Regions from separate parts of the Homo sapiens genome. Here regions 2, 3 and 4 are each linked to region 1. Evidence: promoter capture Hi-C in 16 types of primary human blood cells and fetal thymus (Javierre and others, 2016). All regions are on one chromosome and are shown on one strand. The core of a region is centred on a gene start or on the middle of the fragment in contact, and the rest is flanking DNA. Distances in the headings are between cores, read along the strand shown. Region 1 holds the start of SLIT3 (slit guidance ligand 3). Region 2 overlaps SLIT3 (slit guidance ligand 3). Region 3 overlaps SLIT3 (slit guidance ligand 3). Region 4 overlaps SLIT3 (slit guidance ligand 3).

The links. The method cuts DNA at HindIII sites, captures the fragments that hold promoters and counts their contacts. A CHiCAGO score of 5 or more calls a contact.
Region 2: a fragment that was not itself captured here is called in contact with the fragment with the promoter of SLIT3 in region 1 in 1 of 17 cell types (megakaryocytes); the score reaches 6.7 in megakaryocytes.
Region 3: a contact is called between a fragment that was not itself captured here and the fragment with the promoter of SLIT3 in region 1, in 1 of 17 cell types (megakaryocytes). The highest score is 6.8, in megakaryocytes.
Region 4: a fragment that was not itself captured here is called in contact with the fragment with the promoter of SLIT3 in region 1 in 1 of 17 cell types (megakaryocytes); the score reaches 10.5 in megakaryocytes.

What each region holds. Positions count from the first base shown.
Region 1 is chr5:169,299,347-169,302,560 of GRCh38, reverse strand. SLIT3 (slit guidance ligand 3) reads left to right here and starts at 1,422. Exons shown (of 36, transcript NM_003062.4): 1 at 1,422-2,048. The coding sequence starts at 1,852. The HindIII fragment of the contact is 7,800 bases long and covers 1-3,214 here.
Region 2 is chr5:168,996,829-169,000,087 of GRCh38, reverse strand. The region is part of intron 4 of SLIT3 (slit guidance ligand 3); the gene reads left to right. Among named protein-coding and RNA genes, the nearest start is that of SLIT3-AS1, 15 kb to the left of the region's middle. The HindIII fragment of the contact is 5,072 bases long and covers 1-3,259 here.
Region 3 is chr5:168,945,072-168,948,391 of GRCh38, reverse strand. All of the region lies in intron 4 of SLIT3 (slit guidance ligand 3), which reads left to right. Among named protein-coding and RNA genes, the nearest start is that of SLIT3-AS1, 66 kb to the left of the region's middle. The HindIII fragment of the contact is 3,353 bases long and covers 1-3,167 here.
Region 4 is chr5:168,979,589-168,983,311 of GRCh38, reverse strand. All of the region lies in intron 4 of SLIT3 (slit guidance ligand 3), which reads left to right. Among named protein-coding and RNA genes, the nearest start is that of SLIT3-AS1, 32 kb to the left of the region's middle. The HindIII fragment of the contact is 4,051 bases long and covers 40-3,723 here.

The DNA of each region.
Region 1 (3,214 bases), core at 173-2,672:
GTACGCGCGCGCAAGTGGGTGCCCAAAGCTAAGACTTTGAAAATCTGCTAAGTATAATACAATAAAATCTACAACTCTACTATATATTCACAGGATGTGGTCAAGTAGTTGAAAGTTTCCTTGAAGGAAAATGAGGTAGAAGAAATCAGAATAGTATTCTTATGAAAGAAAAGAGAAGCGCTCTCAGGAGTATAGTTGTCACTATGTGAGTGTGTGTGCGAGCATGCATGTACACGTGTGTGTGATTGCCGGTGTATAAATGGGTGTGTGTGAGCCTGAGTATGTGAGAGTGTGTGCGTGGCTGTGAATACGTAGGCACCAGTGTGTGTGTATATATATGCAGGGCTCATTCAGGCCTTCTCAGTGTGAGGGGACCTCAAGGAAATCTGGGCAATACTTCCTCCAGTTCCTGCCCTTTCCTTTCAAACAAACAAACAAAATCATTCCTACAAGTATTTATGGAGCCTCTAACGCACACGCCCCTCCCCACTGGCATCTGGAAAAGCTCAGACCTAGCCAATTTAAAGCGGGCGCTGGAAGAAAGAAGGCGCTGGGGACAGAAGGGATGCCTCGTCTGCGAATGACTTTTGCAAAAACACGTTCTCTTCTGTGATGCTCCAAACAACCCAGGGAGGTGAGGCCAGGTAGGACTGTGGCCCCGGATTTGAGAAAACGAAGGCTCAGAGATGACACGATTGGCCCAGAGTCACCCAGTCAGGAAGCAGAAACCCGAGGATGGAACAAGGCATTGTCAATCCAGGGGTCCAAGTCGCTGCCATCACTACTTTTACCAGTCCACCAAGCGCTGGGTCTGGGCAAAGCAGGGCAAGTTTCCGGGTAAGGTTTGCCAGCAGTGACCTCAACAACATGGACCACGGTGTGTGTGTGTGTGTAGCTGTGGAGTACATTGGTGTCAACCAAGGCTCTTCAGGCAAAATTGTGGATCTCTGCCATGAGTACTAGGTGCGGTAGGGAAGCGGCTTCGTGGGCGACACTGCCATGGTTTGGCGTCCCTAGCAGCTGTGCGACCTCCAGCAAGTCGCTTCACTTCTCTGAGCTGTTTTCAGACGACCCCTTGGAAGATCGTGGACTTAAGTAAAGAATATGAGTAGAGTGCTCAGCTCAGTGCAAAAATTAAAAAAAAAAAAGTGTCAGGAGCCTTATCCGTCCTTGGATCTTAACAGTGAATGAGTTTCAGTGTTTCTTTCCAGGGGCCCTGCTGGCCGAGCCCCTTTCCTTCCCTGGTTCCTTCTCTCTCCCTCCTCTACTGCCTCCTCCCTCCAGGCTCTCGGTCGCTCCAGCAAAGTTCCCAACTTAGTCGACATGACGCGCGGCGCAGCCAATGGGAGGCGGAGTTGGCGTTTCTTGGTCGGGGGGGGGCCGGAGGGGTGGGCCCCGCGTCTCCGGTGTCTGCCGTGCTCACTGAATGGAGAGAGCGAGCGCCGGCCAGCTCACCCGGCCGCCCCGTGCCCCAGCCGCAGCCGCCGCGCTCCCCAGCCCAGCCCCAAGCCGGACCTCCCCGGGCGCCACGCCCCATTGCGCTCGCCCCAGGTCCCCAACCCGGCCCGCGGGCCAGCGGGGCCAGGGGGCGCTCCGCACCTGGGCACTCCCAGCGATGCGCAGCGGGGCAGCGCCGGCCCCGCCGATGGAGCTGCTGTTGCTGCCGCCGCCGCCGCCCGGAGCGCCCCGCTCCGCCCGCGCCCCGTGCGCCTGAGCACCGAGCTCGCCCCTCCTCCGCGCTAACTCCGCCGCCCGCTCCCCAGGCCGCCCGCGCTCCCCGCGCGCCTCCTCGGGCTCCACGCGTCTTGCCCCGCAGAGGCAGCCTCCTCCAGGAGCGGGGCCCTGCACACCATGGCCCCCGGGTGGGCAGGGGTCGGCGCCGCCGTGCGCGCCCGCCTGGCGCTGGCCTTGGCGCTGGCGAGCGTCCTGAGTGGGCCTCCAGCCGTCGCCTGCCCCACCAAGTGTACCTGCTCCGCTGCCAGCGTGGACTGCCACGGGCTGGGCCTCCGCGCGGTTCCTCGGGGCATCCCCCGCAACGCTGAGCGCCTGTGAGTACCCCTGCCCCACCCCACGCGGGCCACCCACCTGGGTCCCACCGAGGGGGCCCCAGGCGCCAGATCCGTCCTTTCCCCTCGGCCTCCCTGGATGCAGTCTCTATTCTCATCCCTTCCTGGATACGATCCCTCACTCTCCGAGCTGGGGGTCTGTAGGCTTGGTCAGATCTGGAAAGAGAGGTCTCGAAACCCCCAGCGATGGGCAAAGAGCAGTGCCTCTCCAGGGGTGAGGGTTCCAGACGCAGGGCCCGCTGACAGCTTCCAAGGAGTAGCTGAGGAGAGGCGAGGGGAGGCAAGAGCACTGCAGCCTCAAGGTCTTAGGGTGAGGGTCAGGGGTCTGCGCTCGTTAAAAAGGGGGGCGGGCGAAGGAGAAAGCTATAGGATGATGGGCCGTCAAGGCGCGGAGGCGGGAGAGAGGGCCCGAGACTGTTGACCTGCTTGGAGATCAGAATGGGCCAGCCGCTCTCTGGCTGCCCTTGCAAGGAAAGTTGAGAGTGTGGGTGAAGGTTTAACTTCTGAGGAACTGGACAGATTCAGAGTGGGTGCTCGCAAAACCCGCTCTGCCTGGAGCGCAGTCTGGGAGATGCCAAGTTGCAGCCCCGGGTGAATTTTTTATGGCTCGGTTATAAATGCCTCCCCGAACGAAGGGGCCGGAGAATGGAAATGCTGACAGCCCTTCAAATGAGACCGAGCGTTATAATCTTACAAACCGCACTCAGCCTCAGATCCTGGGCTTGGCAGCGAATGGAGAGGCGCTTGGAGAATGGGGTGGATTGACCCTAGTTTTAGCCCCAATTGTGCAACCAAATATTTACTTTTCATATGTCAACGTTTTGGAAACATTTATCATTTTGATCCTCGGACCAGATTCAAAACTTGGACTCCGGGGTGGGCTCCTCTTAGTCCGCAGTTGGGGTGGGGTAAGGGAGTGGGGGAGAAACGCTGGAGTGGGTGGGAAGCCTTACTGGGAACCCAGCCGAGAAGTGGGTGAGGGTTTGCTCTAGTGTGGTAGATTCCCTCCGTGTCTTGCTCTCCCTCTTCTCCCCTTCCTCATGTGCCTTAGGGGTAGGCGCCTGGATCTTCCACTCTGCTTTCTTGACTTCAGGCTGGAAGAGAGTAGTGATGACAAGCATTGTCCTAGAGTGTGTTATTCCTGCTAG
Region 2 (3,259 bases), core at 431-2,930, 300 kb after region 1:
TGAGCACTGATTTTTTGTCGTCAATAATGATCGCAGTATTTGTTGAGCACTGATTTTAGCAAGTGATAGGCATTACTTTACTTCTGCTATTTCCTAAGAAGGATGGGGATACCCAGACCCCAAGTGGAAAAAATCATGAAGGGTCTTTGGGTCATCTCCCTACTCCAAGCCATGAGCCACAAGGCCATCGAGCTCAAGAGGAATGACTGAGCAGTCCAGCAGGTCCACTTTTGCATGGGTCTTCCCGTGCAAAAGCTCCCAGGTGGGCGTCCACTCTGTACCTGCAGCCCCAGGGCCGGCCCTCCATGGTGAAGCCAGGGCTGCCTTTGTGAGTCCCGTGGCTGCATATCCTCTGTCCACATTCCTCGGCTTTGACAGTGTGAGGCAGGGACTTGGGCTGTGTGCCTCCTCTGCAGACCTTCACCCTCTCACCCTATAGGGACACTGTCCAAAGTTTGTGGGAGGCAGCACTAGGAAGCCAATGTGAGTGGGGACCAGATCCCTGAGTCCTTCAGAGGAGTTCATCAGCAATGGAGCCCATGTTCTGGTCTCCATCTGCCTGCTTCACATGGGTCTGGAATTGGAAGGGGATGGGGATATGATTAGTTATCACTCAGCACCCCAAAATACCCACACAAGGCTCTATGTAGCTGTGCTGTTTTATTTGATCCAACAACCTTATGGGATGGGGGTAATTATTACTGTTTATCCAATCAGAAAACCAAATTAAGAGAGGTAAAGCCAGCAGCACAAGATGAACTGCTGCAGATCCATGCCTGCAGATCTGGGATTGAAACCTGACTGTATCCCACTCCAGAGCCAGAGGTCTTGAACCCATTACCAGAGGCTCTCATACTTGGAAGTTCATTCATTACCTCCTAAAGGGTGACTCACCTGTAATCCCAGCGCTTTGGGTGGTAGAGGCAGGAAGATACCTTGAGCCCAGGAATTCGACACCAGCCTGGGCAATGTAGTGAGACTCTGTCTCTAAAAAAACAAATTTAAAAATAGCTGGGCATGCTGGTGCACACCTGTAATCCCAGCTACTTGGGAGGCTGAGGTGGGATAATCACTTGAGTCTGGGAGGTTGAGGCTGCAGTGAACCATGATCACTCCACTGCACTCCAGCCTGGGCAAAAGAGCGAGATCCTGTCTCAAAACACACACACACACACACACACACACACACACACAGATTTCTGGGTCCCCTCCCAGAATTTCTGATTCAGTGGGACTGGGGTAGGGCCCAAGAATTCATATTTCTAACACATTCCTAGGTGACAGTGATGCTGCTGGTCTGGGGACCACACTTTGAGGACACATCTTTTCACCCTGTTCAATGGCCTTTTGTTTTGTTTTGTTTTGTTTTGTTTTGTTTTGTTTTGAAATGGAGTCTTGCTCTGTCGCCCAGGCTGGAGTGCAATGGTGCGATCTCGGCTCACTGCAACCTCTGCCTCTCGGGTTCAAGCGATTCTCCTGCCTCGGCCTCCTGAGTAGCTGGGATTACAGGTATGCGCCACCACTCCCAGCTAATTTTTGTATTTTTAGTAGAGACGGGGTTTCACCATATTGGCCAGGCTGGTCTCGAACTCCTGACCTTCTGATCTGCCCGCCTCAGCCTCCCAAAATGCTGGGATTATAGGCCTGAGCCACCGCGCCTGGCCCATTTCTTAGTTCTAACCTTCAAAGTTTACTAGTACATGGGGTGGCATCAAAACATTATAACTAGAAGAGTAACCTTAATTGGATGTTTAACTAAAATACCTACAACCTTGCATACAAGGCAGACCCTTTGGAGGCATTTTGGAGGTGGTGCTGGTTGTCCTTTCTATAGCTGAAAAGAAACAAGGAAGGGATGAAACGGATGTGTTTCATGTGTTTTAAGCCATGACAAAGTATTTCATTCTTCAAATACATTTTCTGGTGGCATTTTATTCTAGAGCCAATCTGGATGACTTTCTTTCTTGTAACTCTGTGAGATCAGCAGCCATCCCTGTGTCCCAAGTGACTCCCACAGTTTATTATTGAGAGCTTCCACCTGGCTTTGAATATGAACAGAGGAGAGAGAGGGAGGGAAGGGGAGAGATGGAGGGAGAGAGAGGGCATGGGGCGGGTAGAGAGAGAGAGCTTGGCCTCAAATTCTGGGAAAGGTTATCACATGAAGAATGGAGCCCTGATCTCTTTATAGACACTACAGATAAAGCCATGCAAGGGTTGCGGTGGATGTGAAGTGCCAAGGACAAACTCAGGTGTGCCAGAAATACCACTCCTTTGAACCTGATGTTGACACTTGAATCCCCATGTCATAGGCTGGTTGGAAATGCCGTGCCAGTTGCTACCTAGGTCTTCTCTCCTGTTTCCCTTCCAGGACCCCTCCCAGCAGAGTTAGGAGTTTGCATGGTGACCGGAAACAAAGGATGGTCATCAGCAGTCCCAGATCACCCAGGCCCACTGAGGTCTCCTGCATGCAGCAGCTCTGCATTTCTGGGCTTGGATGAGAAAGGGAATTTGGGGCAAGGCTTCTAGAAAGCCACGCGGCCATGACTCTGTGGGGTCTTTTGCCTCTCCCAAATCCTTGGGCCCCACGCATACCTCCCTCTACCCCCATCCCTTTCTAGTTTTGGAGAAGACCCTCCCTCTTTCAGTTAATTCTATTCTTTCACAATAGGACTTGATTCCACAAACCCAGAACCCCAAATCCTCTTTCCAGGGGGTACAGAAAAGTAATTGCAGTCTCTCCCTCTAAAGTGGGGGGATGGGGTAGGAAAAACAACAGAGCTCAAATTTGACACAAATTCTCAGTCGAAGTGTTTGCCCCTTCCCAACCCTCCAAATCCCCAGGGAGCCTCTGAGCCCAGCTTTTCCCAGGTCCCAGTGTGACCTCTCAGGAGACCAGCTTCCAGACCCTGTGTCTGGGAAGGTACAGGTGTCGCTCTTAGAGAAGGGGCACGCGATGCGTCACAGTCCCCTAGTGCACCAGGCATAAAACTGAGGGCCACAGGAGACAGGATTATTGATCAATGAGGCGGTTGATCCCTCCCTTTCATCATGATTTCTTGAGAGTGCACTAACCCGGCCTGACAGCTGTGAGGATGACCCACTCACAGAGACCTGCAGCAGTCAAGATGGTCCTGCAGAAGCTGAAAGGATCCTGAATGTAAATAGACCATGAGCCACATTCTCCCACACATCACTCCTCCACTCCACCCGGCTCAGGCCACCCACCTCCTGAGACAGGCCTGAGACTCACTTGCTTTTG
Region 3 (3,320 bases), core at 242-2,741, 350 kb after region 1:
TCACATGACACCTAAACCCTGCCTGTTCCAACGGAGCCTCTTCCTTCGCTGAGTCTCCTCTGAACCCAAAAATCCACAGCCCCCGTTTGCTGTGGGGGCTTCTGTTGCCCTTCTGTTGCCATGACTATTAATAGTGGGCAAGCACCCACTGTGTGCCAGGCAGTGCATCAGGCCCCGGACAAGGCAGGGGTGTTGCTGGGGTGGCGCGTCAGGTCCGGCAGAGAAGGGAAAGTGTGGCACACAGTCATTCACTGCCCTTCCTGTGGGTGGCAGTTTTCAGGATAATAATAAAAACAACTTGGCCAGGCATGGTGGCTCAGGCCTGTAATCCCAGCACTTTGGGAGGCTGAGGTGGGCGGATCACTTGAGGTCAGGAGTTTGAGACCAGCCTGGCCAACATGGCGAGACCCCCATCTCTACTAAAAATACAAAAATTAGCCGGGTGTGGTGGTGCATGCCTGTCATCCCAGCTTCTCAGGAGGCTGAGGCAGGAGAGTTTTGAACCCAGGAGACAGAGGTTGCAGTGAGCCAAGATCGAGATTGTACCACTGCACTCCAGCCTGAGTGACATAGCAAGACTCCATCTCAAAAAAGAAAAAAACAAAACAACAACAACAAAAAAACTACCTTTCAGGCTCTCCTTCCCCATTATTGCCCAGCCCCAGCCCTTGGGTCTGCATCCAGCCTCAGGCCCTGCATGTGGGGCACATTCTTCCAGGAGGATTCCACCAAGCCAGCTCAGTGTATGAAGAACCAGGCCCCCACTTTTCACACTGGCAGCCCTGGTGCCTCTGTCAGCCAGGACCCAGGTGGCCCTGCCCCTGACCTGGGCACAGCTGTGGGGCAGAAATCCTCAAGGCCCACCACCCCAGCCTGTTTTTTTTCTTCCTATGCCTCCTTTTTGGGCCACAGTCCCATGCAACATCTCTGCACTGCCACCTCCTGGCCAAAGAGAGCAGTGAGCAGGGGCCTGGGGGAGTGGAGTCCAGGCACCAGGGCGGCAGACGGTGGCTCTCCCTGCAGCTCCCGAGGGACCCAGGGAACATCCCAGAGTGCAGTCTGCAGAGATGACACCCACAGGCCAGGGAAAGGTGATGGGCAGCATCAGCCCAAATGTTCCCCCAGAAAAGTCCCCAGCAGAGGCAAGCATCTGTTTTTTCTCTCGTTGCATTTCTCTTTCAGCCTTTTAGTTTATATTGCCCTTGGTTTCTGTTTAAATGTTTAAATACTTGCATATTTATGTGTGTGTGTGTAGGATCTAATTCCTTTTGTGCAGTGTATGTTTCTTACTTCCATAGACAATACTGACTTTCTCATGCAGATCAAAACAAAGGGGACACCACAATATATAGAAACTAGAAAATGCTAGTGTGAGACATAATAGTAATAATAACAATACACCCCCATACATTCACCATTTAATTGTGAAATCTTTTCTCTTTGAAAAAAAGACTGAGCTAATTTTTAGTTCCAGAAACCTGTTCTCTATCATCAGATGGAGCTGATAAAAGGCTTTGCAAATGGAGAGGTGTTCGAAGGGGAGGGGAGCAGCTGTGTGTTCCAGTAGGTCAAGTTGAAGACACCCTTTCTAAACCCTGGAGTAACTGAGCAAAGAGTAGGGAAGGGGTGAGAATGAGGGATGAAGGCTGGGCTAGGGGGTGAGCGTGTGTCCGGTGTCGAAAGACCCCAGGCAGGCCGCAGAGGGGATTGTGGACCCACAAGCCCCCAGATGCCTGTCCTCTGATGATTCAGGGCCTGTGCTTGCAAATCAGCCCAGAAACCTGCAGAAGATGCTGGAGCCAGGTGGTCCCTGCCATCACCAAGCCTCTCCCCTGGATGTCACTGTTGTGCTGCGTGAACAAGGCTGGGGAACACTATGGGACCATGAGAATCCCTCCCTAACAGCCGCTGCCCCTTGGGGCTTGGGGAGGCACAGTAGGAAAAGGCAGGGCCCAGGCTATCTGCAGGCATTTGGGAGGTTGGGGCCCAATGTCTCCAGCCCAATGCTGCTGCCCCATGGTAGCATCTGTGGGTGATACTAAGGCTCTCTGGTCCTGTAGGTCCTGCAGCAGGACTGATTCTCTATTACAAAGAGGCTGGGGAGGCTGAGAGGACTGGGGTCAACTGAGTCCCCTCCCTTGGTCTCTCAGGCCCTTGGATAGGTTCTCAAATCAGCAGCCATAAGAAAGAGCTAAAGGGTCAACGTGTATAGTGATTGCAAGCACAGACACAAGTCCCAATCCCAGCCTCATTGAAAACCAGCCAGGTAAACTCAGGGAAATTGTTTCATCTCAGAGCCTCACTGCTACCACCTACATTTGATGTGACTCCCCCCTAGCATTGTCGTAAGAATTAAATAAGAATACAGCACATAAAACTTAGTACATAGAGTGCGGCTATTATTGTAACAAGGAATTTAGAAACAGTACGCGAGAAACTTTCCAAGTTCATAGCCTGGGAGGAAAATCTTGTTTCTAATCCAATCATGACATTAAGCACAAGCCCAAAGATTAGAACAAATCAAGAGATATTTGGCCCAGGCCTAGTGGAACCACTGCCCTCTTTCTTTGTACATGGTTTTGGGTTTCCCTAAGACGCTGGCTGCCTCTTCACAGAGCCACATATGCATGCGTTTTGTTGCACGTGTTGGGAGGAGGAAACACCCGAGTTTAGCCCTAAAGCAGTCGGGATTGTTTTCTCTCTCTCAGTGTTGATATATTTGGAATAACTGAAAGCAGACCTAGAACATATTAAAAGTATAGCATGTGGAGAGGGTTCCAGGCGGAGACACAGAACCTCTGTGGAGAGGCCAGGCCAGAATGTGTGATCATCTCTCTTGCCTAAGACCGGATACTGGGCCGGGCGTGGTGGCTCATGCCTGTAATCCCGGCACTTTGGGAGGCTGAGGTAGGCAGATCATAAGGTCAGGAGTTCAAGACAAGCCTGGCCAACATGGTGAAACCCTGTCTCTACTAAAAATACAAAAATTAGCCAGGCATGGTGGCACATGCCTGTAGTCCCAGCTACTTGGGAAGCTGAGGCAGGAGAATCACTTGAACCTGGGAGGTGGAGGTTGCAGTGAGCATTGCGCCACTGCACATCAGCTTGGGTAACAGAGTGAGACTTTGTCTCAAAAAAAAAAAAATGTGGATACCAATCACGAAGCTTTTGATCTTCCTTTGGTTTTCTTTTCTGGAATGCAGTTTTGCATGGTCAGTCATTAAAGCAACTCCCTGATATGTTATCAGTGTGATGTGACTTTGTGGGGCATGAGCTAGCAGGGTCCCATTCCCTTTCCAGAAGTTGAGTGTCAGTGTTGC
Region 4 (3,723 bases), core at 816-3,315, 320 kb after region 1:
TTTAGGTGATCTTGGGGAGTTTACCTGGGGGATAAAGCTTGTGAGATCTCTACAAAGTGAGATGCATTTTATTGTATAGAAAGTGATGTTTTGATCCCTAAGTTTTCTGGAGCCAGTAGATATCAGGAAATCTGACTTAGCCTTTTGACATTCAAATCCATCTTGAATGAGAATGGCAATGTGGCTTGAGACAGGAGCATCAATTCATCCAGGTCTTCAGGTCAGCAGTATGACCCCTTCTTGCCTTTCAGTTTTAACTATTCCATGACTTCAATAACATGGGAAAATACATGATTATTCTTTCTCAAAAGAAACTAAAAATGTTTCAGTGAAATTACAAGGCAACAAGGGACCATGGGGATAATGATTGTGTTTGAAATAAGGTCTCAGAGCCAGTACAACAGGAGTCCCTCGGCATAAAATAACAAGATTACACTCCAGAAATATCTCAATCCATTAACCCTCCATCAGTTTAGTCCAAAGAGATTCTTACAAGGCCCTGATGATCCTTCGAAGCACCACTCAGCTAGAGTTTTAGTTCAGAGACAAGGCTGTACCCCAAATGTCAGCTCTAGTCCACTCTTGATTGTCTTAATTAATAAAAACTTTGTGAGGACTAAGCCCATGAGTCACAGGCCCAAACCTACTTAGTGCTTCTCCAATTATGTGTGGAGATGGATTTTTTTCTTAAAAGACTGCAACCTATAGACTAATACATTTGTAAAATACTATAAAAATAACTTACTAGAAAAATGAAATAAAGATATTGTTTTAGTCTGTTTTCTATTGCTTATAACAAAATACCTGGAGTTGGTTAATTTGTAAGACATTAAATGTATTTCCTTCAGTTCTGGAGGCTGGGAAGTCCAAGGTCAAGGGGGTGCATCTGGTGAGAACCTTCTTGTTGTTCAAGACTCTCTGAAGGGTCCTTAGGTGGCACAGGGTATCACATGGAGAGAGAGCTGAGTGTGCTAGCTCAAGTCTCTCTTCCTCTTCTTATAAAGCCACCAGTCCCACTCCTATGATAACCTGTTAATGTATTAATCCATGAATCATCTCTCAAAGGCCCCATCTCTCCATACTGCCACACTGGGAATTTCAACATGAGTTGTGGACAGGACAAAAACCATAGCAGATATACAGAATAGAAGCACAAATATTTAATTATTAGATTACACAGGCATAAAATTACATTTCAAAAAATATCAGAATGCACATAATTAGAAGAAAGGAAAGAATTACAAATCTGTGCATGTGGGTCATGGAAAGTGTGGTGGTTAATATCATATATAGGTGGTTAATATCATGTACACAAATGCAGCAACGTCACATTGCTATCATCATTTTTAGATACTCTCAACTTCAGTGTTTATGTCTTCAGGGACCTGTAATCAACAGTTCATGGACTGGCAATGATCACCTAAGAGTTAATGGGACTCCATTCTTAGCCTTCAGTGCCCTTAAACATCCAGGCTCCTAGAAGTTTCTTGGGAAACCAGATGTCTTTGATACAATAAGCCAAGACTCTAAGAATAATGTGCTTTACATTAATTCAAACCATTTATCAGAGGAATATGAGAGCAGATGCTGTATTTTAGAATTCAGACATGGAGTTATTGATCAAAGAAGAAATTAAGACTTATGGTTATTATAGTAAAGGGCAGGAGGGATGGGGGCAGCAGTGCTTGGAGTCCTGGATAACCCATTCAGCTCTATCTACAATAATGGAAGTCAGGGAGTGTTGGCAGGATCAGTGTCTGCTGATTAGGTCTACTCTTGGCTCCTCTGGTGAGGATTTGTTTTATTTTGATGGGCATAAGGGAGGCTCTGCGCATGGAACCTCCACCACATGCATTGGTGCTACTGCTTAGGAAGAGGGAGTGATCCTCCTGCCTCAGTCCTTGAGGCCCCCAAGCCTCATTGCAATCCCGGGAATCTGTCATCTTCACCTGTCTATTCAGATCCAATCCCCACCCTCTTTCTCCCCTACCCCCATTTACCAAAATCTGAACTGTTGCGTAGTCAGTCCCTATTGGCATGCACCCCACAGTGAGCCAAATGCATATTAATGAATAAACTGACACGTGGTCCAAATTACATGCTACACAAATTGTAGCAACTTTGCTTGTGTCTAATATCAGCATTGCGCACATAATGACAAAATCATACATTGAGATAGTTTCTAAATAGCGCCTTGCATGTGAATGTTGAATATTTTCAATGCTTTTATTCTTATTTAAAAAAATATCTTTTTGGGAAAAATATAAATTAGCAAAAAGAAGAAATTCATCTAAGTCAGTACTTGTATAGAACTAAATCATTCTTTTCCATAGCTTCATGGTATTTCATTGTATAGATTTACCAAAATGATGGTAACCATTGCTTTTGATGGACATTTGGTTACATATTCAAATTTTTTTCACTTTACATCGTAAACATTTTCCCACATCACTAAATATTCTTCTACCCTAGTGTCTTTAATGACTGAATACTTGCATGGTATTCTATTGTATGGATATAATGCTAAATTCAATCAGTACCATATAATTACTTTTCTCCCAAACTTCTGCTGTTATCAATAGTGTTACTGCTGATACCGTTGTAAATCTATCTTTGTCTGCCTTCATAAGTATTTCTTGGGTTAAGTTCTTAGCCTTGTAGCCCTGGATCAAAGGGCATGCAATATTCTGGGGCCTTCCTGAAGCCTTGCCATATTGCCCAAGTTGAAATATCATGTGGGAGGTGGAAAGAGCTTGAAGTGTGGAGAAAGACAGGCCTTGATCCTAATCTTTGCTCTGCCACTTACCAAGCTGGGTGACCTTTGCCAAAAACTGATATTCTCTGAGCCTCAATTTCCTTGTATAGCAAAAGGATGAAAGTAAAAGCATTTACTTCGTAGGACGGTTTTGGGACTCAGATAAAATCATGCATTTTGAGCCTTCTGTGGGAAGCAGCCTTCCCCTTGGTCATTTTGGAATGGTGTACAAGCAAGGATGCATTTTTAATTCAGTCTGCCTTCTCCATCAACTTTTACACGCATCTCAGAACCCGGGCACCACTCCATAGAACATTTTAGCCAGGGAGGAGAGGGCGTGGGGGCTGGAATTTCAAAGGCATGTAGAACTGGTCTAGCTCTCTTATAATGTGAACAAAATTTCCACAAACAAATGGTTACTAGATAAAAAGGGTTTGGGATTGGAGTCTTTTGAGGGCTGTGTCCCCTGCTCTAAAGTGTGGGGCCTCGGAGTTGTGTGTTTTTGCTGCTTGGTGAACAGGATGACAATGTCTGGTTCTGAAATCCCAGGAGCTGAGGGAAGCCCCTTTTTGCCCAGTTCCTGTTCTCCGAGGGTTTTTTGTGAAGTGAGCCTAGGAGCTAAGAAGAGAGAGAGAAATGAGGTCTGCTGATCCCCAGCAAAACTACATGCACCTCCCTTTCATCTGTTTTGGTTGAAAACCTACGAAGGTTAAAATAGAGAAAACCTTCAGGGCAGGCAAGCTATATGTGGTTAGCTTTGTGTGGGAACCTGAGTCCTGGAGACTGCCCTGACTTTTGCAGCAGGCACATTTGTATGTTTGGATTTTCCAGAAGGGATAAATCACACAAACAGAGCACCTTGGGAATCCTTCAGGGAGTCCTGTTTGGCCCCAGCCCCCTTCTGTTAAACACACACCCCATTCTCCAGGCTGTGGAGAGTGGTTCAAACACTGCCCTTGTCTGAAGAG